2 separate regions of the Homo sapiens genome follow, and region 2 is linked to region 1. Evidence: promoter capture Hi-C in human tissues and cell types (Jung and others, 2019). All regions are on one chromosome and are shown on one strand. Each heading gives the region's core, a stretch centred on a gene start or on the middle of the fragment in contact. The rest is flanking DNA. Distances are from core to core; before and after follow the strand shown.

Region 1 (3,355 bases), core at 713-3,212:
TGGAAAATACTTTCCTCAGTTAGTTTTATACTTTGGGGGGTAAGCTAATGTCACAAGACACTCTATTGACAGAAATTCTTATCTACTGACTTTGCTAAAAGAATTTGCTAAATATTATTACTCGCATGAGTGTCTTTAATTTGGTTCTTTGTAAACATTGAGCATTGAAGACGGTTTGTTATTAAGGACAAAGTTATGTATCTAACTAATCTCACATTTTTCTAAGCAGCGCAAATAAACCCAGAGCCCTTCAATGGTTCACAGGTCCACAATCCTTTTATACACATTCTGAAATCCTAAAAGGCTCTGAATACTGAAAGCTGTTTTGGGAACTCATCTAGAATCAGAACCAGAAAGGCTTGAACTCAGCTGGAGGTGAACCTAAACTGGGGGTGGGGGGCCTGAAGCTTGTATGATTTTACCATATCTCACCAAATGTGATGCCTGTCTTACTGCAGAAATATTAATGTGTTTGATCACAAAGTGATGTTCTGTGTTATGTAATATACAGTAAAATCACTCAATCATCTTTCTAACAATTCTGTTTTCTGAAACACATCCGGGCTCATGGGATTTGCATAAAGCACTGTAAACCTGTACTGTGTTTGCTGTTCCGGGCTGAACGTGCTGGCTTCATCTTTCTTTACAAGATAAGGGTGATGGCTGCTACCTTGCCCCGGTGAATGCAGCAGGATTCCTTTTCTAGGTGCCTAGAGCTTTTACGGCTCACGTGCATCTCTGGCTCACCTGTGTGAGTGTCATGCTTTGACTAGATGCCACTTTGTGGTGATGAAGCTTCTGGCCTGTACCTACCCAGACAGAGCACAGCCTTGGAGAAAGGTAGCATGAAGCTGAGTGTCTCTGGGCTCCTGTCCTGTCATCCATCAGTGATGAGCAATGGGAAGTAGAAGGAGACACATTATGTTCATGGCCAAAGGTGTGACCCCAAGCCACATCAAAGGCACACCCAGCTCTTTCAACGAAAACAACCTTCTGTGGGCATGAGGGGCTCATGTATCTTAGGCCAATATCAAAGCCATATAAAGCCTGATGAATCAAGTCAGTCTTGAGCTGGGATCCCCGTTCCACCACATTTACATAGTGCCACCTTGGGTAACCCAGTTTCTTGGTAACCCACTAGAAGTAGCCTGGCTTATAATAAACTTACGACATACTTTTCACCATAATAACTTCCTTTTTAAAGTAGGTATTGGGTCTGTGATCCTGGGAGAACCCTAACCCAGGGAATTCCATAGCTCCCCTCTTTCACATCTTGGATTTTCTTTTCTCCACCTCCAGATTCCCAAGCTCTTAACTTGGAGGCAGAAGCACTGGTGGTGAGTTTAGAAATCTAGGAGAATCAGCAAGATACACAGACTCTTACAGTCTTAAGAGACCCGGGAGATGAAGGTGTAACCTTTTTCCAGCGCAGGGCTCCCACGATCCTCCAGACAGGCCCGGAGAAGCGGACCCTCATGGACAACAGCGCCCATCTCTGGTCAGAGAAACTCGACTGGCTCCTTGTGCGTCTATATGAGGGGCCTCTGGAACCTCTCCGGGGGCCCTGCAGACATGGGAAGGCGGCCAGCGTAGCCTCCCCAGCTTCTTCTCTCAGGGATTTACACCCTTGCTCTTGGACATCAGGCACAATGTGGACATCTTCAGTTGGGTACCGGGGGAGCTTGATGCTTCACTCCTGGGGTAAGGTGGGGATTAGGTGTTTGGGTGTCGGGGTGTGTGTTTGGAGGGGGTGATTTAAGTGACTCTGGAACTTGAAGCCATTCTAGAGAACAACACCCAAGCGGCCAGGAGAACCAGAATCTTTTCATCAACATCCACAAGGGTCACGAGAAAGGCTGTCATTGGCCAAGCTCCTAGGCTACCCAAACAAAGGAGGGAGGAGGGGAAGACAAACCCCGCCCAAGCCCCAGGGGATGGAGTTGGCACCAAGGACTTCTGGTCAACCCCAGGACAGCGGACAGCGGGCCGGGCACTTCCAAAGGCGCAGGAGCGAAGCAGCCCTCTCCAGCCGTGCACTGCACCTCCGCGGCCCGCGGGCGAGATTGGGGTCCCGGTGGGAAGCAGACGCGCAATCGGGGAGAAGCTCCAGCAGTGGAGGAAGAGTCCAGGGAGTTTCAGCTGGGCAGAAGGGGCGCAGAGGCTTGGGGCCAAGCGGAGTTTGCCCTGCGGGTCCTGCGCAAGGCCCCAGTGCCCCGGCTAAACCTTTGCCGCAGGATCCCGGAGCCGGCGTCCTTCAAGGAGCACAGAGGGCCCCGTAGCACGCCCCTTGCCCAGCGCCACCGACCCTTAAGCAGCGTCAAGGAAGGAGTCCCGATCAAGGACAGGGATCTGCGGCCATGGCCGAGGCCGCGGAGCCGGAGGGGGTTGCCCCGGGTCCCCAGGGGCCGCCGGAGGTCCCCGCGCCTCTGGCTGAGAGACCCGGAGAGCCAGGAGCCGCGGGCGGGGAGGCAGAAGGGCCGGAGGGGAGCGAGGGCGCAGAGGAGGCGCCGAGGGGCGCCGCCGCTGTGAAGGAGGCAGGAGGCGGCGGGCCAGACAGGGGCCCGGAGGCCGAGGCGCGGGGCACGAGGGGGGCGCACGGCGAGACTGAGGCCGAGGAGGGAGCCCCGGAGGGTGCCGAGGTGCCCCAAGGAGGGGAGGAGACAAGCGGCGCGCAGCAGGTGGAGGGGGCGAGCCCGGGACGCGGCGCGCAGGGCGAGCCCCGCGGGGAGGCTCAGAGGGAGCCCGAGGACTCTGCGGCCCCCGAGAGGCAGGAGGAGGCGGAGCAGAGGCCTGAGGTCCCGGAAGGTAGCGCGTCCGGGGAGGCGGGGGACAGCGTAGACGCGGAGGGCCCGCTGGGGGACAACATAGAAGCGGAGGGCCCGGCGGGCGACAGCGTAGAGGCGGAGGGCCGGGTGGGGGACAGCGTAGACGCGGAAGGTCCGGCGGGGGACAGCGTAGACGCGGAGGGCCCGCTGGGGGACAACATACAAGCCGAGGGCCCGGCGGGGGACAGCGTAGACGCGGAGGGCCGGGTGGGGGACAGCGTAGACGCGGAAGGTCCGGCGGGGGACAGCGTAGACGCGGAGGGCCGGGTGGGGGACAGCGTAGAGGCGGGGGACCCGGCGGGGGACGGCGTAGAAGCGGGGGTCCCGGCGGGGGACAGCGTAGAAGCCGAAGGCCCGGCGGGGGACAGCATGGACGCCGAGGGTCCGGCAGGAAGGGCGCGCCGGGTCTCGGGTGAGCCGCAGCAATCGGGGGACGGCAGCCTCTCGCCCCAGGCCGAGGCAATTGAGGTCGCAGCCGGGGAGAGTGCGGGGCGCAGCCCCGGTGAGCTCGCCTGGGACGCAGCGGAGGA
Region 2 (3,325 bases), core at 323-2,822, 1.0 Mb after region 1:
CTGTTTTTCACTACGACCTGTGAAGTAATTCTTTTTCAAATGGAAACATCTGAAATGCAGATGTTCCAGAAATATCTCACCTGAGAGACTCTCTCTGAAGAAGACCTTAAATTGGTTGAGCCTAGGAGACAGACACTGTGGTTAGCAGGGTTCTAAGATGGTTCTCTGCTCCTCTCCCGAGATGCAATGCCTCATATAATCCCCTGCCCTTGATGTATGGAGGTCTATGACTCCATTTTGCCAGTATAACTACAGAGATCCCTGCTGGCCTTGCAGGAGCTAACTACCATGCTGCAACCTACCCATGGAGAGGGCCGTGTGTCCGGGAATGGTGGGGGCCCCTCAGAGCTGAGGGCCTGAGTCCTACAAATGCAACAACCTGAATTCTTCCAACCACCAGTGGGCTTGGAAGAGGACCCTGGTCTCAGCTGAGATGGGCACTGCAGCCAACACTTTGATTGCCACCTTTGAGACCCTAAGCAGAGAACCAGGTAAGCCGGGTCTAGGTCCCAGCACCATGACAACTGTGAGATAATAAATATGTATTGTTTTAAGCCACTAAGTTTGGTCAGTTTGTTATACAGTAAGGGAACCTAGTGTAGCCACTGTTAAATTAAAATGGAGACTGAGCCTGAAGACTCCCTGAGTAGACAAGCCTTAACTTTCATCGACTGGCAAACATAAGCAAAACTGAATTAAAGCTATTTCTTGTAAATGCCTATATTAAAGAAAAACAGAACTTAAGCCTAACCAATCAGAAAAAGCTAACAAACTTATAAAAAGAGGGACTTTCTAGCGGGATAGACCAAATAAGGCAACTGTGTAACTGTAGCCAATCAAATGTTTTCTCTTTGCTTTACTTCTGTGTTCATCTTCAAAAGCCTCCCCCATCCGAGAACGGTAGCTCGCACCTGTAATCCCAGCACTTTGGAAGGCCAAGATGGGTGGATCACTTGAGGTCAGGAGTTCGAGACCAGCCTGGCCAACATGCTGAAACCCCGTCTCTATGAAAAATAAATCAATGATACAAATATTAGCTGGGTGTGGTGGCATGCGCCTGTAGTCCCAGCTACTAAGGAGGCTGAGACAGGAGAATCACTTGAACCCAGGAGGTAGAAGTTGCAGTGAGCAGAGATCGTACCACTGCACTCCAGCCTGGGTGACAGAGCAAGACAGATGGAGAAAAAGCCTTCTCCATCTTCCCTCAGTGGAGCTCATGAACCACCTCTGGTTTGGTTGCTGTTTGCTCTATGAATTGCTGTTTGCTCAATAAGTGCTTTAAAATTTTACTGTGCCTCAGTTTACTTGCTTAATGACACCAACAGGGACAGGACTTGCACAGAGCATGAACATCCCTGATTGGATGGACAGTTCCTGTGGGGTGGGTCAGAGGAGGGAAGAACCTACCAAAACAGGACCACCACACACCCTGCCAAACAAGGGGCTTATTTTGCAGCTAACCAAGCCTATGGGGGCAAATCTGATCCGGCTCCCATTGTGCCAGGAAACCTGATATCTTCTTTAGCCTTTGTATAGACTTAAGAGCACTGGAGAATGCCTCCGAAAAATGCACAGATGGGCAGTATTGTGTACACTTCAGGCAGATTTCAGGCCCCTGAAATTTCCCCTTGTGTCCTCTGCTTCCATACCCAGGAACCCCCACTCTGGATCATGCTTTCCCAAGGTGGGGCCATATGGTACCCAAGGAAATGAGAAGCGGTTTTGGGGGGGGAAATAAAAATATCTTATTATTTTTATGCATGTAGCACAAATAAACATAGGATACATAAACAGATTTACAGTATATCTGTGGTGTTATAATTTCATGGGAGACAAGAAAACAATGTCTTAAAAAGCTTAAAACAGGGAGAAGATAATGAAAAAAGGTGGAGAAACACTGGTGTAGACAATAATAGTTCATGGTCAAAACAGAGAGAGGCTTTGAGACACTGATAATACTCTACGTCTTGTCCTGGCTGGTGGTTACATCGATGTGTTTGCCTTCTGAAAATCCACAAGCACATGCTAAAGATCTGTACGCTTTATGTAAGGCACACTTCATCAAGAGGAACGTTTAGCAACAATTGGAAAAGCAGAATCCAATGTTCTGACACTTCTAGCTAAAGACGCTGTCACGCTGGAGTGAAACACACAGACGCCAGGCAGATATCGAGGCTCTATCTCAGTTCCTCCTTTTCCTCGTGTGCGACCTTGGCTAAATAACACACTTCCAAGCCTCAGCGTTCTCATCGGGAAAATGGGTTTAATAATACAATCTGCCTCAAAGGGTAGTGGTGAGATTAAATGAGTTTATACATGTAGAGTACTTAGGACAGTGTGTGAAACAGCACACGCTACAGAAGTTCTGCTAGTTCTGCTGTCCTGATTTGTTGTTGTTGTTATTGTTGTTGTTGTTGTTTGTTGTTTGTTTGAGACAGGGTTTCCCTCTGTTGCCCAGGCTGGAGTTCAGTGGCACAATCTCGGTTCACTACAACCCCTCCTTCCCGGGTTCAAACAATTCTCATGCCTCAGCCTCCTGAGTAGCTGGGATTACAGGTGCGCACCACCACTCCAGGCTAATTTTTGTTATGTTTTTAGTGGAGACGTGGTTTCACCATGTTGGCCAGGCTGGTCTCGAACTCCTGGCCTCAGGTGATCCACCAGCCTGAGCCTCCCAAAGTGTTGGGATTACAGGCATGTGCCACCGCACCTGCCCATCCTGGTTTTATTGAAGCTCTTTCTGCTTTGTCCTTTCTCTATCAACTTTAAGTTTCTGAAGAACGGGAAAAACCACCAGCGGTTATCTTTCCCCAGCCCACAGTGTGGTGCTCTGCAAAAGCTAGATGCTCACAGTGTTGTGGTTGAAGTTGTGGAATCATTTACTTTCTTGTGGCATTTTGATACAGTTCAGAATTATTGATCTTGGTTTCTGGGAACAATATGGTTACATATTAGATACTTTCAGACCAAATTCTGTTTTCTCCTTTAAAAATAAGGTAAAGGGTCACAGCTCCCCAGGCTTGACATAGACGAATGACCAACTGCGAGTCAGGAGCCCACGGCTCTCCTTCCATCTCTGCTGGCCACCGGCTGAGGGATCTTTAATAAAAAATTATTTCTCCCACACACACAGGCCTGGGTTTTCTCATCTGGACAATGAGACAGCTGGATCAGACAACCTCTAAGGTTCTTCCTGTGTGGTTATATAGTTAATAATAATCACAACAATAACAGCAGCAGGAACTTGACCTTTAATGTGTGCCGGACAGGAGTCAGAGTGTATTACTCACCCCTTCAGTCCCCATGATATATGTGCTCTCATTAT

What was found. The method cuts DNA at HindIII sites, captures the fragments that hold promoters and counts their contacts. A contact is called where the count stands out against the background at its distance.
Region 2: a contact is called between a fragment that was not itself captured here and the fragment with the promoter of CLIC6 in region 1, in 1 of the 25 tissues and cell types used here (dorsolateral prefrontal cortex).

What each region holds. Positions count from the first base shown.
Region 1 is chr21:34,667,032-34,670,386 of GRCh38, forward strand. It overlaps CLIC6 (chloride intracellular channel 6), which reads left to right and starts at 1,963. Exons shown (of 6, transcript NM_053277.3): 1 at 1,963-3,355. The coding sequence starts at 2,358. RefSeq lists a silencer at 2,256-2,695. The HindIII fragment of the contact is 4,429 bases long and covers 602-3,355 here.
Region 2 is chr21:35,672,232-35,675,556 of GRCh38, forward strand. No RefSeq gene overlaps it. Among named protein-coding and RNA genes, the nearest start is that of MIR802, 47 kb to the right of the region's middle. The HindIII fragment of the contact is 5,506 bases long and covers 1-3,325 here.